3 separate regions of the Homo sapiens genome follow, and regions 2 and 3 are each linked to region 1. The links are contacts of gene promoters, found by promoter capture Hi-C in human tissues and cell types (Jung and others, 2019). All regions are on one chromosome and are shown on one strand. The core of a region is centred on a gene start or on the middle of the fragment in contact, and the rest is flanking DNA. Distances in the headings are between cores, read along the strand shown.

Region 1 (3,165 bases), core at 236-2,735:
TTTAAAATTTAGCTGGGTGTGGCAGCCCATGCCTGTAGTCCCAGTTACTTGAGAGGCTGAGGCAGGAGAAGTAATTGAGCCCAGGAGTTGGAGGCTACAGTGAGCTATAATTACACCAGTGCAATCCGGTCTAGGTGACAGAATGAGGCCAAAACAAACAAACAAACAAACAAACAAAAAAAACACCTGCCCTTTACCCTTTCTCAACCTGACAAATTGACTGACTTGTCTTGAAGGTTTGGCACCACTTCTTGGAAGCTTCCTCTGCTCCCCACCTGGGGTGATGCCCTCTTCTGGAAGGCTCTCACTGCTACACACACAGTGGCTGCCGAAGCTCAGCCTGGCTTTAGTTCCAGCCCTACTAGGTCTTCTCAGGACTCAGGATATCCAGGTGGAAGGAAGGCTGTGCCAGGTACCAACTACCCTACGTGGGATCGCCAAGATAAATCCCTCACATTCAAACTAGTCCCCCAACATCCGTCAACCCTATTCCTAACAGCAAATTGCCACCTTTAGTCCACTCCACAGTGCCCTCTGGAAGGGTCATCAAAAGACAGTTATGACCATACCAAACTATGATTCTTGACACAGAATCAAAAGTTATTTTCAATTTATTTTTTTTCTATTGTAGAACAATAATAATAATATTTAAAATCATATTTTCCTGTGATATAATTAAAACTGTGTTATTTCAATTGAATTTGAAATAGAATTCATGGTCTAAAATAGACTGAATCCCACTGTGAACATATATTTGCATGCCTTCCTCGTCATCATTCAGTTGGTGCAATTGTAAGGCATGCAATAACAAGGGAAGTGAACATTGCAGCACTGTGGCCTGTGGCCACGGTGATGGCGGGACAGCCCCACAGAGGCCACACCAGGTGACTCTCAGCTCGGTGGGTGGGAGGGGGAGTGTCTCTGTGTCCCTCTGGCACACACATCCTCACACAACCTCACATAGTCTTTTTTGCATTTGCTAGGCCATCTCATAACACTTAGGCTCATAAAATTCTGGCTTCCTTTGGATTAACTAAACCCATGGTCCCCCAAGATGGGGATTCCAGGGAGCAGGAGGGAGCCTCGAGGCAGCCCAGACTCCCAGCTGCAAACCTCACTTTCCAGAATACCACTGCCACACCTTGGCATATACCAAATGTTGACAAAGAAGGCTGTTCCCGTACAAGGGCCAATTTTAGAGCAAGCACCCTGTGGTTGGAAAACTGTAAAACCCTCAGCCCCAAAGCTGTGTGTGGCGCTTTGTGCGTGACAGGGCTGGGGCAGATCTCTCTGAGGCACTCAGGAAAACCATTCCCTTTGCTTGTGGTGGGCGGCCCCTGGTGGCTGCTCTGCCCTTGCCAAGTGTTACGTGTCTAAGGTCTGTGGGCATGTTTCTCATTTGCTGCAAAACATCCTCCCCACCCTTGCAGAGAAAGAGTCTTTTGTGCAGCACCCTTTAAAGGGTGACTCGTCCCACTTGTGTTCTCTCTCCTGGTGCAGAGTTGCAAGCAAGTTTATCGGAGTATCGCCATGAAGTTCGTCCCCTGCCTCCTGCTGGTGACCTTGTCCTGCCTGGGGACTTTGGGTCAGGCCCCGAGGCAAAAGCAAGGAAGCACTGGGGAGGAATTCCATTTCCAGACTGGAGGGAGAGATTCCTGCACTATGCGTCCCAGCAGCTTGGGGCAAGGTGCTGGAGAAGTCTGGCTTCGTGTCGACTGCCGCAACACAGACCAGACCTACTGGTGTGAGTACAGGGGGCAGCCCAGCATGTGCCAGGCTTTCGCTGCTGACCCCAAACCTTACTGGAATCAAGCCCTGCAGGAGCTGAGGCGCCTTCACCATGCGTGCCAGGGGGCCCCGGTGCTTAGGCCATCCGTGTGCAGGGAGGCTGGACCCCAGGCCCATATGCAGCAGGTGACTTCCAGCCTCAAGGGCAGCCCAGAGCCCAACCAGCAGCCTGAGGCTGGGACGCCATCTCTGAGGCCCAAGGCCACAGTGAAACTCACAGAAGCAACACAGCTGGGAAAGGACTCGATGGAAGAGCTGGGAAAAGCCAAACCCACCACCCGACCCACAGCCAAACCTACCCAGCCTGGACCCAGGCCCGGAGGGAATGAGGAAGCAAAGAAGAAGGCCTGGGAACATTGTTGGAAACCCTTCCAGGCCCTGTGCGCCTTTCTCATCAGCTTCTTCCGAGGGTGACAGGTGAAAGACCCCTACAGGTAATACCCTTTCCTTTACTCATATACAGAGACTACGTGTATATACTTATATACAGAGACTACGTGAGAGGCACTTAGCACTTTCACAGCTGCTGCGACCACATCAGAGTCTCAGCGTGTGTTTGGGGGTGGGTTTGAGGCTGTCTGTTGCAGAGCAGTGTAGATGAGGTAGTTCATCCGGAGTGGCACTTGACCCTGGAGTTGCATAGGAATCACCTACAAGGAGCTCTAAAAATGCTGATGCCCAGGCCCCTCGCCAGACCGTTCCATCTATGTCTCCAACATAGTAGCGCAGGAATGTGGACTTTTAAAACTCTCCCCCAAGTGATTTGAATGTGCAGCCAAGGTTGAGAATCTCCTTGTGATGGAACCACCTCACTGTTAGACCGAGGCCTTTGGAATTCTGCCGGGTAACGTTTCCTAATGAACCAAGCATTTGCTGCAGCTGTTAGTGGCCGAGGTGCTATGTCATGGTGGAGGTGTCGCCACACCCCGTCTTGTTCTCAGTTTTTTCTCCTACAGTCAAGTTAGGGTGGGGAGTGTTGTGCACTGAGGAAAGTTTGAGTCAAATAGTCTTTAAAGTCTTTCTCACAGCTCTCAAAGCCTTTAATTGTTTTTTGTTCATCACAGAGGAGAAAATCTAATTAATAATAACAGATTTAATCAACTCCAAGTATTGCTTTTAAAAGACCAAACTTTTTCTTGTGGAAATAAGGCTTATTACTGATCTCTATCCTTAAATGTAGCAGCTTTCATTAATTTTGCACACCAGTAAGGAGTTCATTTACATGGGATTCTAGTCTTACTTGTGCACTTTGAGTTTAAAAGGAGAGTTTCTGAGTTTTTTTCATATTATCTATGTAAGAAAAATAGGAACAAAGCAGATTTCCTGATAAACAGCACTTTGATAACGAATACCACCAAACAAATAAGGCTTTTTCTA
Region 2 (3,165 bases), core at 216-2,715, 410 kb after region 1:
TTTTGGTGTTCATGCTTCCCTAGTAGTGTTATTACACAAATATACAGACTGAAAAAGGAGAGATTTGTGCCAGACTACAGTGTATTACGAGGTGCCTACTAGAAATAAGATTACCCATATACATATCGTATATAAAATCGAATATATGACTTTTTAATGTCATGTGCATATGCAGATAAAGGCCTCAGAGGCAGCTGGTCAGCTTTACTTGGCTCCACAGCCATGCTTTCCTGTCCCTGAATAGCACCTCACAGCCTTGGTCACTGAGAAAAGTTAGCCAGAGATGGATCCAGCCCAGCCAGCCTCCAAGGCCCCTGTGCATTGTCTCAAGAAGGCCAAGTCTGGCACCTCTGAGAAGCTGAGCAGATGTGGACTGCACCTCACCCAGGTGCTGCCTGCCTCTCTGCTTGGTGCTTTGCTGGCTGTAACCTCCTCCTGAGCAGAGGAAAAGCTAGTGCCCCAAGATGTGCTGGGGCCTTGCATGGGAAAGGCAATCCTGGTTCATAGCAAGAGACCAGTCAAGAAGGCAATCCCCGTTTTGTTCTTTGATGGGAAAACATATAGTTAAAAAGAAAATAATGAAAGTGACGTGTCTATTGAAATGTGATTTGAAAACTTTACATGGAATAGACTACATTTTAGGTAATATGACCCAATCTTCCAAATATTTCTATTAGGCACACTAAGGTGTATCATGCTTTAGGAGAGTTTATAAAGATAAAAGTCAGAATAAACCAAGGTTTGTTATGGGACTTGGAAAAACTAGAACCAAAATGAAAATGTTCATGCCGGCTACAATTATCCTATTGATAAACACATACTGATAGCCATGATCATAAGGATGTGTTGCTAGGGCTACCCTCTGGATTACCTACTTGTTTATTATGGCTTTGTGTGAATAATGAAGTTGCCAATAAAACCAATTGTATTCGATACCAAGAAAAATAAACTAATGTTCCAATTTATTTGCAAATTCATTGAAGAAAGAATTTTGAATATTATGGTAGATCTGAGCAATTTATCTGGTAAATACTTAAGTGAAACCTAAATGATAACTAATTAATCAACAACAAGAAAACAAAACAAATTTTCCCTAAAATGCCCCATCAGTGCTTTAAGTTGTGATGAAAAAAGCAAGTGTCCTGAAATCAAATCGACTTATTAGCTGAGTGACCTTAAGCAAATAACGCTGAGTTTCTGAACTCAGCTTCCTCTCTGGAGAAGGGGATATAAAACCTTTAGGAGTTTTACAGAGGTTGGAGGTAGGAGTGACAACAACAACAATATTTACTGCTCACAAATTGTGTGCCCAGATAAAGGGGTTTTGTTTGTTTGTTTGTTTTTGAGATGGGAGTCTCACTCTATTCAGACTGGAGTGCAGTGGCAAGATCACAGCTCACTGAAGCCTCAACCTTGTGGACTCAATTGATCCTCCCACCTCAGCCTCCTTAGTAGCTGGGACTATAGGCATGCGCCACCGTGCCAAGCACATTTTTACATTTTTTGCAGAGATAGGGTTTCGCCATGTTGCCCAGACTGGTTTCGAACTCTTGGGCTCAAGCGATCCTCCTTCCTTGGCCTCCCAAAGTGCTGGAATTACAGGCATGAGCCACCATGCCCGGCCGAGCTAAGAGTTTATCTGCAGCTGTTCATTTCCTCATGACCCCGCTATGACAGCAGCACAGGGCTTAGAAGCACTGAATACTTGCCTGGGTCCCATAGCCAGGCAAGAAGCACAGCTGGAATTCAAACTTGGCATTCAACCCAGCACCCATGTTCTTAAACAGTATTGCATAGGAGAAGATAGTGTAAAGGAAAATTGTGTAAAAGGCCAAGTCAAGAAATGGCATGTGTGCCTCCTGCTACATACCGAGATAAGCTGCATCAAAGGGGCATTGTTGGGGTCATTTGGGTCGAGCTTGGACTCTGCTGCCCACTTGGCCAATTTTTTCATGTCTGTCAGTCCTGATGTGCCAATAGATGAGATGGCATCTGCTTTCTTCAAAGCACTGAAAAGAAGAGTTGATTCCATGAGACTGACTTGACCACAGAACAGTTTGCATCAGGACCTCAAATTCTAGAGACAGCATGACTTGAGGAAGCTATTATCCTCCATGAGAGAAAATGTTATCATAAGGAAGGATTTTGTCATTTTTCTTTACATGATGATGGCTATTAAACATAAGGACAATAAAGAAACAGGAATGGAAGGACTGCAGATATGACTAATTCCTACAACTCTGTCCAGTGCATAAAAGTGCCCCTTGGTCCCTGGATTCTGGCCAGTGAAGAGGGGCCTCTGTATCTGGTGCTGGAAGCCCACAAAGCCTCACATCCCAGGCCACTGGGGCCCACTATAGCTGAGGACAAACCAAAAGAAAAAGAAACAAAACCAACTCTTTTTTTTGAGACAGTCTTGCTCTGTCGGCCAGGCTAGAGCGCAGTGGTGCGATTTCAGCTCACTGCAACCTCTACTTGCTAGGTTCAAATGATTCTCATGCCTGAGCCACCCAAGTAGCTGGGATTGCAGGCATGCGCCACCATGCCCAGCTAATTTTATTATTTTTTTTAGTAGAGATGGGGTTTTGCCATGTTGGCTAGGCTGGTCTCAAACTCCTGACCTCATGTGATCTGCCTGCCTCGGCCTCCCAAAATAGTCGGATAATGGACGTGAGCCACCGTGCCCAGCCTAAAACCAACTACTAAACAACAAACTTAAGCACCAGCTTTGGACACCTGGAGATCAAAGGAAGCCACAGTAGTCAGCAAGGTTGAGCTGGGGCTTTATTAATAGTCCTGCATATCTTGTTACTCACATTGTGTTTTACCTTCTATTCTGAGGAGTTGAAAGCTTTACTCCCCAGGAGATTTTTCTAGCACTAAATGCAAGTGAAATGAATGCAGACTTCTTACATTCAAAGGCATAGTCAGGCCTCCACTGGAAGTGGCTTCTGACTTAGAAAGCAAATAGCAGCATCTCCTTGTGGTTTTTATCACATGGACATGTGTGGTCGTTATGGGGATTGAAGGCATCAAGGGAACTAAACGAGCCCAATTCTGTTTTTCCATAAGTTGAACATGACAGCCTGTGACTTGGAAAGTGTCTTCTTCATGATCACAATGAATCCTTTTATTTTAGAGATGAGGCAACTGAGGCCTGGAATG
Region 3 (3,165 bases), core at 472-2,971, 280 kb before region 1:
TCTAAAGAACCCTGACTGATACGCCCATCTTCCATAACTTGGTATCATCACATATGCTCTCTCCTTTGTGCAATCAGAGTCTGTTCTTAAGGCAGTGTCCAGTATAGATGCCATTCACACATTAATGTCAGCAAATTCTCTCTTCCCAGGTGGGCCTGATATTAAATGAGAGCTTTACCTCTTGTTAACGAAATCAGTAAAAATTAACAGACTATGATGGAGAGGCATTTCTGGAGAATCTATCCTGCCTAAGTGTAAGACACTCAGCCCCACCTCCCAAGACAAAACCAGACATTCAACCTGATCAGGTTCTCCCATTAATTCAATAGCTGTGGAATGGATTTGGTGAGTTCTCAGAGTCCTCTCACAAGGCACAAAAGCCACAGGGAATAGAGAACACTTTGGAATGTCAGCCAATTCCCTAAAGTATCCAGGTCTTCTTTCAAAAATGTTCTTGGCCAGGGTGCAGTGGCTCACACCTGTAATCTCATTTGGGAGGCCAAGGCAGAAAGATCACTTGAACACAGGAGTTTAAGGCCAGCCTGGGCAATGTAGGGAGATCCATCTCTACAAAACATAAAAAACTAGCCTGACATGATGTGTGTCTGTGTTCCCAGCTACTCAGGTGGCTGAGGTGGGAGGATCACTTAAGCATGGGAGATCAAGGCTGCAGTGAGCCATGATCATGCCACTGCACTCCAGCCTTGGTGACAGAGTGAGACCCTGTCTCAAAAAACAAAAGGAAAGTTCGTGTTCAAAAGATTATCTTTTTAAAAATCAGTCATCTTCCTTCTCCCCCCACCACCCTCACCTCTCTCTCTGTCTCTCTCTTCTGTCCTTCTGCCCTCACCCCTACTTGTTTTTGTTAAAAGAAAGTGTTAAAAGAAAAACTGAGGCACAATACAAATCTTAGAGTTTATCTGAGCAAACAACAATTCATGAGTTGGGAAGCACCAAACCAGAAGAGGTTTGGAGCTCCATAAAGAGGCACAAGGAACTGGCTTTTATAGAGTGAATGCAGAAATAAAGAAAATATTTGCTCAGCACCTGAAGATGTCGAGACAAGGGGAACGCTTAAGGCCAAAAGTTTGAGACTAGCCTGCACAACATAGCAAGACCCCTATTTTGTCCCCCTTTCAGCCACCTTTTCTACAAAAAAATTAAAAATTAGCCAGGTATGGTAACACACGACTTTAATCCTAGCTACTTGGGAGCTCAGGCAGAAGGATCACCTGAGCCCAGGAAGTTGAGGCTGCATTGAGCTATGCTCACGCCACTGCATTCCATCCTGAGCAACAGAGTGAGACCTTGTCTCTTAAAATTAAAAATAAAATGTTTGAGTGAATATTTAATTTCCTTATTTGGTTTGTCCCACTAGAAAGTCTCTAGTTACCTAAGTTAGTTGGCTGCTTCTGATTGATTGAGCTTAAGTTTTGTTTTCCTCTGATATAAGCATTTACATGTAATGGCCCAAGTTAAGTTTTGCTTATGTTTGCAATTTAAAAAACGTTAAGGTTATTTTCAAGGCCTAACTCACTTTGTCTGCTGAGGGATTTTTCAGGTCTAGTCTCCATTTTAGTTTGTTTTTACAACTGCCCCTTTTTGGTTATCCTCTTTATCCTCTCAGCAAACTGACAGTGTAATTAAACGGTATAGCATTCGTCTTGGTTATCGCCATTGAGGGAGTTGACGTAGACACTGGGACAGAGTCATAGAGACATTCTCATCGTCCATAGTTGCACTGGAAGGAAGGGTGGTGGTGTCACTGTTATCAGCACCTCTGTAGCCATCACTGGTCAGGTGGTTGAGCTCCTCAAGTTATCTGATCCTGATGGCAATCATTTGATATGTGAGTAGCTGCTGGAAAGCATTTAAAACCCCTGATAGGACACCATGCACTAGGAAGGTAAATACAACGACTTTAAAGAGAATAATCGCCAAGGACTGAAAAATCTCCCAGAGCAGAGATTCCCAGGAGCCACGATTTAGTCAACTAAACAAATCAGTAGGTGTAGCATCACCTCTGTGATGAAAAACCTGTATCTCTTCTTTTAAGATCTTTTAGATTTGGGGCAACAATTCGTGATTTATTAACATAGAAGCTACAGTTTTCAACACTAACAGCACATGCACCACCCTAGTGAGTGGTTAGGGTATACAGAACTTCTCTATTTTGCAAAACTAATGAAGCAAGGTTGGAGAGACCTCATTTGTAAAGCCAAGACAAAAGTGGCAGTGTCATTAAAGCTTTTTTCTAAAGTCCTGGGAACATTTATAATAGCCTTTCCTAATTCAGACGTATCAACGGAAGGAATCAATGCTCTGACGAATGAGTGAAACCCAAAATTGCATGTAGTGAGAAGCTTAGCACTGCATGAATTTCTCTTATGAGAAGATATTTTATGGACAAATGAGCCAAGATTAATGGTTTCATTGCAGAGAGGGTTTTTTGTCTCTGAACACTCGGAGCCACTTTAATCCAAAATGGTCATTCAATTTGCAGGCAATTCTTGCACAAAATTGTGGTGCGTTGGAAATAGAGTCCCATTCCTTTCATGGGTAATGCTAAAATTTGAGGCTCTCAGTTCTGTTCCCTCCAGTTTCCTTAAGAAGTAGGGGGTAAGCAGACTTCCAATTATTGAATTTAGATAAAAAGAAGAGTTTGCTGTTGGATATAGAATTGGGAAATACCTAGTTCAGGAAAATCTATCTGGATTATAGAATTAAGAATGGGTATATGCAGAGGAGGATTTTGTGTGGTTACATTGGGAAAGGCTAATCTGAACAGTTTCAACACAAAATGGAGGAGTAATATATTCTAGAGAGGAATAAGTCTGATTACTAAAAATACAGACAGGGAATTTTCTTTCATTTGAGGATAAATAGGGAATATAGTTGGGTAAGACTAGCTAGGCTTTGGAGATGTGTCCACATCCCGTTAGGTTGGTACCAGGCTGTTTTATTGGCTGGATGCAACTGTGAAAATATATCAGGTTCTTCATATATTGTATGGGCACAAATCCAGCATTCTGACTGATTAGTTATAGATGCTATTTTTTATACAATATCCACCAAGGAGTGTTTGCAATCAATGTTAGTAAAGCCTAATAAAGGTATTGATAACAAAAGCATTTTAATCATAGTGCCAGTAAACTTGTATCATTG

The links. Contacts are between HindIII fragments. The study calls those that stand out against the background at their distance.
Region 2: a contact is called between a fragment that was not itself captured here and the fragment with the promoter of FGFBP2 in region 1, in 1 of the 25 tissues and cell types used here (spleen).
Region 3: a fragment that was not itself captured here is called in contact with the fragment with the promoter of FGFBP2 in region 1 in 2 of the 25 tissues and cell types used here (adrenal gland and aorta).

Annotation. Positions count from the first base shown.
Region 1 is chr4:15,961,495-15,964,659 of GRCh38, reverse strand. FGFBP2 (fibroblast growth factor binding protein 2) reads left to right here and starts at 1,485. Exons shown (of 2, transcript NM_031950.4): 1 at 1,485-2,222. The coding sequence starts at 1,531. The coding sequence ends at 2,202. RefSeq lists an enhancer at 614-1,455. The HindIII fragment of the contact is 18,537 bases long and covers 1-3,165 here.
Region 2 is chr4:15,553,916-15,557,080 of GRCh38, reverse strand. CC2D2A (coiled-coil and C2 domain containing 2A) reads right to left here. Exons shown (of 37, transcript NM_001378615.1): 20 at 1,871-2,009. Among named protein-coding and RNA genes, the nearest start is that of CC2D2A, 86 kb to the right of the region's middle. The HindIII fragment of the contact is 4,032 bases long and covers 1-3,165 here.
Region 3 is chr4:16,241,808-16,244,972 of GRCh38, reverse strand. The region is part of intron 2 of TAPT1-AS1 (TAPT1 antisense RNA 1); the gene reads right to left. Among named protein-coding and RNA genes, the nearest start is that of TAPT1-AS1, 17 kb to the right of the region's middle. The HindIII fragment of the contact is 5,377 bases long and covers 1-3,165 here.